Regions from separate parts of the Homo sapiens genome. Here region 2 is linked to region 1. Evidence: promoter capture Hi-C in human tissues and cell types (Jung and others, 2019). All regions are on one chromosome and are shown on one strand. The core of a region is centred on a gene start or on the middle of the fragment in contact, and the rest is flanking DNA. Distances in the headings are between cores, read along the strand shown.

Evidence for each region. Contacts are between HindIII fragments. The study calls those that stand out against the background at their distance.
Region 2: a contact is called between a fragment that was not itself captured here and the fragment with the promoter of PAPPA-AS1 in region 1, in 5 of the 25 tissues and cell types used here (H1 embryonic stem cells, IMR-90 fibroblasts, mesenchymal stem cells and 2 more).

The regions. Positions count from the first base shown.
Region 1 is chr9:116,397,241-116,402,052 of GRCh38, reverse strand. It overlaps PAPPA-AS1 (PAPPA antisense RNA 1), which reads left to right and starts at 1,447. Exons shown (of 1, transcript NR_103711.1): 1 at 1,447-3,896. It overlaps PAPPA (pappalysin 1), which reads right to left. Exons shown (of 22, transcript NM_002581.5): 22 at 1-4,812. The HindIII fragment of the contact is 20,173 bases long and covers 1-4,812 here.
Region 2 is chr9:116,283,470-116,288,012 of GRCh38, reverse strand. All of the region lies in intron 9 of PAPPA (pappalysin 1), which reads right to left. It overlaps PAPPA-AS2 (PAPPA antisense RNA 2), which reads left to right. Exons shown (of 6, transcript NR_170222.1): 6 at 425-2,185. Among named protein-coding and RNA genes, the nearest start is that of PAPPA-AS2, 78 kb to the left of the region's middle. RefSeq lists enhancers at 889-1,463, 1,464-2,040. The HindIII fragment of the contact is 4,653 bases long and covers 1-4,431 here.

The DNA of each region.
Region 1 (4,812 bases), core at 198-2,697:
AATAAATAAAGTTTACTATTTACATTTTTATATATTGCCAAAAGATTTAACTTAGATCCATAAAAACACATAAACAGAAAAAAAAATAGGAGCAGCAAATTTATGCGCGTGAGGTACAGAAAAAGGATTGGAATTGTGTTTAGTTTTTGGTGTTTAGATTATTTTCTTTGTGTCTTTCTTCTTTTTCTTTTTTTTTTTCTTTTTTACAATAGGCCAGAAGAATTCTTATGAGAACAGCTTTTAAGCACTTCAATGGAGTGTCATTTTTTTGGTAGCTTCCAGAAGGTGCCAAACAGGTTTCAACATCATATTAATTAGAAATACCCATAATAATTATAACAATAATAAAAAGGTATAATATGGTACATAAATATGGAAGAGCAGTTTGTAATATGAATACATTTTCTCTAGACGAGATCACAGTTTTATTTTGTAAATATTACATTTAAGTATATATATACACACATATATGTACAACTATATATACATGTGCATATATATGTAAATTTATATTTATATATAATATCTTTATATAGATAGATATCTGCAGACAGGTTATTGATTATAGAGACCCAAGAAAGCAACTCAATAATTGTTCAAAGTTTTCCTCACTGACTGCTGGTGTGTAGTTTAAGAAGCCCCCATTTGTTTGCACTCAGAATGCCTTATCTTCTTTTAATGGAACACTTGATGTGGAATTTTAAGTCTGAGAAGTGAGGTGCCTTCTGAAGAAGAGATTTTAGAGACTCCCTTCCTCTATAAGTTGGAAATGACCAGAAGTCTTAAGTAGACGACAGTTAGCTGACTTTGACATTGTAGGACATAATCAGCTTTTAACCAAATTATAGAACTGGTAAAGGGTAAGATCAAATTTGCCAAAAAAATAAAATATTCTCCAATACAGGTCTCTCTTTTAAGGTGGACTACAATTCAGGAGCTCCGGCTTTATTCCTTGAAATATCAAACAAGCACTCCCTGTCTTGTCTTTCTAAAAGGCCGATGGGCCTGTGCATTCTTGAATAATAACCCATGGACTTTGTGTCAAGCGTTGGCCCTCACAGCCCACCTAAAACCTCAGGGCCTCAAAATCTCCTGCCCTCCCACTGTGAGGTAGGTATATAGTATTATCCCCATTTTGCAGCTAGAGAAACTGATGCAAATGTAGAGGCAATTGGATAACTTGTTCAAGATCACTGAGCAAACTGCTGCCTGGAGTCAAAAATTCTAACTTCTGTACAACAGGGACATAATTTCTCTTTTGGCTATTATACATTTCTTTTAAAAAGCAAGTGATTGGTAGGAATTTGGCAAAAGTTGAATAAGTTACAAGAACAGGCTTTTATTCATTTGCTATTTGGTTTTTATGTTTCTTGTTTACTTCGTTTGATTTGTTTCTCAAAACTCACTCAGTGGGATTACCTGTCTGTCATGTAGCAGCTTTTTAAAAAACTGGACTGTGCAGTGTGGTTCTGAGTGCAGTCTTTATAAAGCCCAGTGCTGTACTGGTAAATATAAACATTTTATAACGTGAAAAGCACAACGACACAATATGTCCCCTTAATAGCTGGAAAAACCAATATAAGCCCTCCCACTCCCTACTACCACTGATTGCCACCAAACAAATAAACAAAATGCCCACCCCACCCAACAACAACAATAACACATCAAGGGGGAAAATGTCATATTTCCTGGACCTACCACAATGTACAGAAAATAACAGACAGTGTTATCAAATCCCACTCTATGTCTTCTAGGGAAATCTTTATGTTTGTGTCTACCTACTGAGGCTGTAGAATAAACAATTTCCTTTAGGAAACATAAAAATAGGTTTTTTATTCTTAGTTTTTAATCATGCATTTTTATTTCCTTTTAATCTCTTTGTCTTCTATTATCTCTATCTGTACAGCTTTGTCACCATTTTTTTTTATTTTCTCACTTGAAGTAGTTCCAGAAAAAAACACAAAACCTCAAAACTGTTAACTTGACCTTATAATTTCCTTTCTCTTTCTTTCTTTCTTTCTTTTTCTTTCTTTCACACAGGTAAGACCTATAACAACAAATTGACAATTACAACCAAGTTAAATCGAACCTGGAAGGGAGGTAGCTGAAATCTGTCTCAAAGAATTATTTTCAACAAATAGTATTTAAGCATTGGCCAGGATGGGAATAAGACCAAGAGAACCGTCTAGGCAGTGACTCAATGTGTTGAAGCCAGGAGTGGCAGCTGATACCCTGCATTTTCAAAGCCCTACCATCTATGACAATCTTTCCCTTCCTTAACACCCCAATTCACCATCAAAACTCATTTCCCAAGGACTGTATTTCCTTAAAAGGTTGTTGGCACAGAATCTGGGGGTAATGCAAATCCTTTGGGTAGGTAGTTAAGATTGTGGCTTGGAAAAGCTTCCCTAAATAGGGCTTAGAGGACTGTCCACCTCATCTTTCATATTTTGCTGCTAACAATCTAATACTTCAGATGCAGAACCTTCAGTGTTTTAGGGCCTTTGAGCTGCTGACACACAATAGTGCATCAGAGCTGCCTCTCAGTGCTCCGGTCACCTACACAGAAGATGACTGAAGGAATGAAATGACGAGTTAATTCCCAGGAAGAAAATGAAACTGGGAACAAATGCATTGCCCAAATTGAGCTGACCCTCCTCCACTAAGGTTTGAAAAGACCCTATTAAAGATACCTTCCATGTGGGCACGAGGTTGGCCACCAATCAAGTAGCCTCTTTTGCCTAATATCCTTGGCAAATATAAATTTGTTAGCAACAGGTCTGAATGAAAGAGACTGGGTGGGTCTTGATTCAGAAGAGCTGAATTCACTCTGTGAGTCTGAAGATACAAGTCAGCCTCCAGGAATCTTTGCTTAGCTGGATAGTGTGAAAATAGATGATGATGGGAGTGAAGATAGAAAGAGGATAAGGACTGATTTGAGGGAAGCTGGTAAGGTTCTTCTGTGGCTCCTGAAATCACATCATTAGTAATGTCATCTTTGGGTCTTCAGAGCTTTTTGTATTACCTATGGGTATAATTAAGCAACTGGGAGGGTTGATACTGTTACATTTCTTAGCTTGTACCTTCTAAGGTAGTTAACACCACACAGGCTGATAACTCAGGGCAAGAGAGAGGCCTGGAGAGTTGACAAGAGTGTGAAGATACTGGAGAGGGGTTCAAAATAGGATCAATTCTTCTAATACTATTCTTATTTCTTGCTAATAATTTGTCCTTGTAATTATAGTGAAGTAATGGTCTGGATATAAATGAGATATGGTTTTGTGAGGAAGAAACATAGAGGATTATTCTTAACAACTGTGGCAGCCTTGCCAATATGGAACCCAATTTCAGAGTTTGTGAAATGGTACAAGTCTCATAAACTATCTCAGCACTGCATCCGTATTTGTGGGCACCTGTGCCAAAAGCACCTTGATATGTTTCTTAGTGTAATTGGCCAGAGATGGCCAATAGATGTCTTCTCAAGTGTTTTTGATCACCAGGTCAGTGCTATTGGGAGTGATATAATATGGTGGTTCCTAAAGTTATTTTTGGTCTCTTTTTTTTTTTTTTTTTAAGTGCTATGATAGATTAACAACACCTGCCTTGGATGCAGGAATTAGGTGGGGCTGCACACGTGCATGGTATTTTCTATCCCTATGCTAGGTTTTGTTTCTGTTGGCTGTCTTCACTAGACTTGAGATGACTTGATTTACAGTAATCCCTATGTGATGTAACTAGTCTAGACCTTCCCTTCTCCGCAATTCCCAGCTCCAGGTTTCAGAAAGTATGCCACACTCAACCCTTCTCTCCAGTTCATCCTGTATTAATTTCTTCCCATATTAATTCAAAGGGAGTGGACAGGTCCCTGGCTGAAAAGAAATAAAGAGATCCCCAAAGTGGTGGGGGCTTCCACGTGCAGTTGACTAATTTTCACTTAACTTTTGGAGGCTAGACATGGGAGAGAGAAAAGCACTGCCCAGTCACAGGTATGGAAGGGAGTACTGCTAGCTGGAAAAACCATATAGAAAACATGATGACCATGTTGAGTTGTTGGTGCTGAGGCTGTGAACTCTTTGGCTTCCTTCTGATGGCCCTCTTGAGAACAATCTGTACTGTTCTTATAAAAGATTCTTTCTCCCAGAATTATATCTCCTCAGAGCAACAGCAAGGTTCTCAGGATCAAAGCCTACTCTAGCCTGAAGGGCTAGGAAGATTAGGATAAGGATAAGGATAATAATCCAAAAGTCTCGACAATTCCAGTAGTCTCTGGATGGCTCCAACATCATAGAAATTTAACACTGTTCCACTTGTTTACAAAATCTAACACTGGCTTAGACATTCTGGACTTTCAGTGAGGGTTCCAGCATCTGATGTCCCTCAACTCCTTTCCAGGGTGAGAGGCCCACTTACAGGAAACTTAACTTCTCACCATGTGGACCCATGAGGGTTTTTCTCTTGCAGAAGGGCTAAAAAGTGAGGAGCTATGGAAAAATGTGGGTCACTTTTAAGGCAGACTGTTTGGTTGTGTGGAATTTTTCCTAACCTAGTTCTACCATCTTGGATTATTCAATGTATAGGATAGAGCAGCAGGAAAAGTAGCAGCAAATGTGGTCCCAAGGCAAGATCTGGGGGAACAGGTAAGTCCTAGAGGGATATTATGACCTCAAGCCTCAAGCAAGGGGCTGATATAATACCTTGACATTGCAATCCTAAGCCATTCTCAGATTGGCCTCGAACCCTGGAGTTGGGGTAAAATCCCCCATGGCAGCAGAAGAATTGGGGCGCTTTGCATACCTGATAATCTTTACCTCT
Region 2 (4,543 bases), core at 856-3,355, 110 kb after region 1:
GATAAGAGTCATCATAACTATTCATGTTCACGAAAAGTTCCAAGAAGCAGTCACTCTGAAGTCAGATTCCGCCAAATGAAGGATGTGTTTGCCCAAACAAAAGCATGAGACTGCAGATTGAGTCATTGGCTATAGATTCCAAGCTAGAGGCCAGAGAAGTTGTCTCCAGTCCTAGCTGGACCAGTCATGGCTGAAGAGGCCAATTCTGGGCCACTGATGTGGTAGGATATGGTCAAAGAATAGGACCCTGGATAGGCACCAACCACTGAGCAATAATCATGTAGGTATGAAGATGCTTAACCTGAAGAAAAGAAGGCTCAGGGAGGACACAATGGAAAACTCTTCTAACAAAGTACAGTTGGTCTAAAATTGAAAGTGGTTGCCCTAGAAGATACTGAGTTATTCATTCAACTTTTCCCAACAGGAGCTTGATGATGATTGACAAGGTGTACTCTGGTCCTTGCCTGCCTCTGCAGGCTTCTCTCTTCTCGAACGCACTCTAGTCTAAGCTCCAGACACAAATTGTCGTTGCCCTGAGTGGACCATGTTCCCTCTCACCTCCCCACGTTTGCAGAAGCTTTCTTCAAATCCCCAGAGCTGCCTTTTCTGTGACTAGTCCCCATTTGTCCTTTATTCACAGTTTAACCTCTCAAAAACCTGCCTGGAAACCCACCCCCAGAAGGGCTAATGGACCCTCACTAGGTCTTCCTATACCATCATCCGCTTCCCCAGTTAAAATTGTACTTAGCGTATTTGTGAAATGAATAACTGGATGACTTTCTCCATGCTGGGCATTGTGCTAAATGTTTCAAGTACATAAGGCATTCAAATCTAGAAGAGCCCCGTGTTTGGTCCTATTATTATCCCCATTTTACAGACAATGAAATTGAGGTTTCAAGAGGGTAAGTCATTCCCATGCTGTCCAGTTAATCTATTTTGAATGGATGTGGATATTCAGGAGAATCTGATGAGATGGGCTGATCTGATTCTCTCTCGGATGCCCTATGATTTGGCACTACTTGGGGGCTCAGGGGCCTGATGGAGCTGTGATCACAACCTGGCTCTTCACTAATTAGCTGGTGTCAATGACCAGCACACTTTAGCCCTGAGTCCGTTTCCTCTTTGGCAAATTGGCAAAATAATGACTACCTTCCCAACTGTTATGAGGACAAAAAAATGAGAAGCTGTTGAGAAAGCACGTAGCACCACATCCAGCATTTAAAAAACAAATTTTTTAAAGTAAAAGATGAGGAGTTTCCCTTTCCTTAAAGGAAGTAATCTGTCTCTGCTACCTTGTGCCACAGTTAAACTGCACAGGCTCAATAACTTATGTTTTGGTTAAACGTTTTTAATTTTTTTAGAGTGAAATCCGAGTTTTTGTTGGCAAGTGATTGAACACGCTGGGCCCAGCCTGCAGGCCCACAGTCCATTAGGAAATTTACGAGGCGAGATGGGGACCTTCAGCTCAAGTACTCCCTTCAGACGCAGTACTTACAAAGCCATCAATTTCCTTAACAAAGAGCATTGGCTTAAATGCCCCTTAAAGCAGTGTTATTTACACAGCTATCCACTTCCTTTTGAATTCTCTGCCTGGGGGGTGGCAGACCTGCAGTTCTTTCCAGCTACGAGTTAATTAGGCTCTCTCCCCAAATGGAAGCAAGCCGCAGACTGAGATTTGGTATTAAAAAGCAGCTCAATTTGGGGCCATCCGAGAGTCTTATGGGGTGATCCAAATACCACCAAAATCACTGGTTCCACCCACCCATTCTTCTAAAATTCTAAAGCCTTTGGACCTTACCAAAGAGTAATGACCTCTGTCAGTATAGAGATAGAGAAGGAAAGGCAGCATTTGAGCCCGTCTCTACTTAGTGAAAGAAGCCTCAAAAAAGTACTGCTGGCTAAGATAGCATACTTTCTACCTCTTGGTGTATCGATATAGTAACATTAACATTTTAAAGAAGCCCCCACCCCTTTTGTGGGGGAACTAGGATTTGGATACAAGCAGCCCAGTTCAGGGGTCTGAGCATGAAACCACCACCCCAAGCCACCTGACCCAAGATAACCTGCCCGAGATGACAGCTAAGGGGGAAAGTCTCCTATTCAAACAGGATTGTCTGACTCTAAAGACCAGCAAAGCTCAACTACACTTTCTTGCCTGAAAAATAAAACTGTCTCTTAAGAAATACATCCTTCTTTTACTCATTTATTCTATATTTACTGAACTGCAAATTATTTGTCAGTCCCTGGACTAACTCTTGGGAAATCAGATGAATTAAAGCAGGTCTCAGTGCTCCAAGAACTCAGGTCCTAGTGAGAGGGGAGATATGTAAATGATGACGGCACAGGATTCTGACCCTCATGAGGTACAAGATACTGTGGGAGCACAGAGGAGGGACCCCCAATCCAATCTAACCCAGATTTAAGAAGGTTTCCCTTAGGAGGCAACACCTGGGCTGTATCTCTCAGAGGAGGAACGGGTGGTGAGGAGCACATTCCAGCAGGGGGACACTGTGAGCAAATGAGATGAGGCCAGCAATATAGTAGGAGGTATAAAGCACAAGATGGTATTGGAGTATAAAATGCAAATCCTGGCCGAGGTGGGCAGGACACAAGGTCAAGAGATCGAGACCATCCTAGCCAACATGGTGAGACCCCATGTCTACAAAAATACAAAAATTAGCTGGGTGTGGTGGTATGTGCCTGTAGTCCCAGCTACTTGGGAGGCTGAGGCAGGAGAATCACTTGAACCCAGGAGGTGGAGGTTGCAGTGAGCCCAGACAGTGCCACTGCACTCTGGCCTGGCAACAAAGTGAGAATCTGTCAAAAAAAAAAAAAAAAAAAGAAAGAAAGAAAAGAAAAAGAAAAAGAAAGAAAAAAGAAAAAGAAAAGAAAAGCAAATCCTGGGCTCAGATCACGCAAGGTCTTAAATGACACAGTAAGGAATTTAAATTTATCTCAAGGGCAACATGGAGCCATCTGACACTCTCAATTGGAGAGCAACAAAAGGTGTCTGCACTTTAGGAAACTTGCTCTCACCTATGGGCAGGTAGATTGGGGCAAGCAAAAAAATGAACAAGCAACATGTTCATTTTACAAGCTTTCTCTTATAAAAGCCTAATCAGGAGCTGAAGAGGGCCTCAGGTAGAGTAATGATCATGGGGCGAGAGAGACTGATTTGGACGCAGACAAGATAACGTTTTCAAAGTAAAATGGGAAGAATGGCAATTATTTGGATGTGGGAAATGGCAGAGAGGGAAGAGTTATGGATGTTTCCCAAGCTTCTGTTTAAATGTCTGGTTGGCTACTGGCGCCACCAGTTGAGATTAGGAAAAACACTTGCAGCAGGTCTGGAAAGAAAGATGGCAAGCTTTGTGTAAGATGTGTCGAATGTGAGTTCCCTTGGGGCGTCAAAGTAGAGCAATTAGATATACAAGTTCATGGGTCAAAAAAAAAAAAAAAAAAAAAAAGGCCCAGACTAAAGATAGAGATTTTGGAGTCATACAAGGAGAGAATGGAGAATGAGAAGTGTGCCTATTATGGAACATTGGAGACTGCTGATACTTAAAGAGTAGGTGAAAGAAGGTCTGTGGAGGGATGGTCAGAAAAGTTAAGAAAAACAGAAGAGGCTAACACTTCACAGGTACCAGGAGTTCTGAATTTCAAGAAAGAGCCAGATAAGACAAAAGAGAAAAATATTGAAATATGTCTGTTTGAACATGCTATTTAATAGAATCTCATGCATGACTTCCCTAAAGAATGATTCTCAAATTTCTGCTCAATCTCTTCCGGGGACAGGTCACTCTCTACTTGTGAGTAAGAACTAGATTATTATTTTTGTTAGCCATAATAATCAATATTTGTTGATCACTTTCTGGAAGACAGGAACTGTCACAAACACAGGCATCCTTGGTGTCTAGCATGAACCTGGCACATAAGAGGTGCTCAATAAATAAAAGCCTATGTGATGAATGAATAAGTTTATAAATTAATAAAACAATATATCATAACAATCATATGAAGTCAGGAATATCACTCCTACTTCTCAGGTGGAAAAAGGTATTTGGGGGATGAACCCTGAGGCAGACAAGTGGTCCTTGTGCTTCGGGGCTGGTCAATCAGCTTTTCCTCCCTCCCTGTCCCTTTAGAAGTTCTCTTGGCAAAATGCACACGGGACAAATGGAAAAGGGATTTCAGACTCTTGTGGAGACCCTTCCTTGGTAATGAGGCTGAACTCAAGCTATACATGTGGTTTTGGACTCCTAAACTGAGGAACCAACTCCAGCCAGGACCTTTCAGAGTCCTGCCAATGGCGGCTGATAGTTAAATTTAAACTTACGGATAATTTGGGCTGGGTTTCTGACTGCTGTTGAAAGCTAAAATCACCCTGATTTCTCTTTGGGTCAGTTTGCCAAGAGTATTTTGTTGGCCCTTGAAGAGCATCCCATTCAGGGAGGTTGATCTTTTTTAAAATACTGCTCCTATCATGTTATGCCTCTGCCCAGAAACTACTGCTTGCTATGGGATGAGAACTGCCCACTCACCC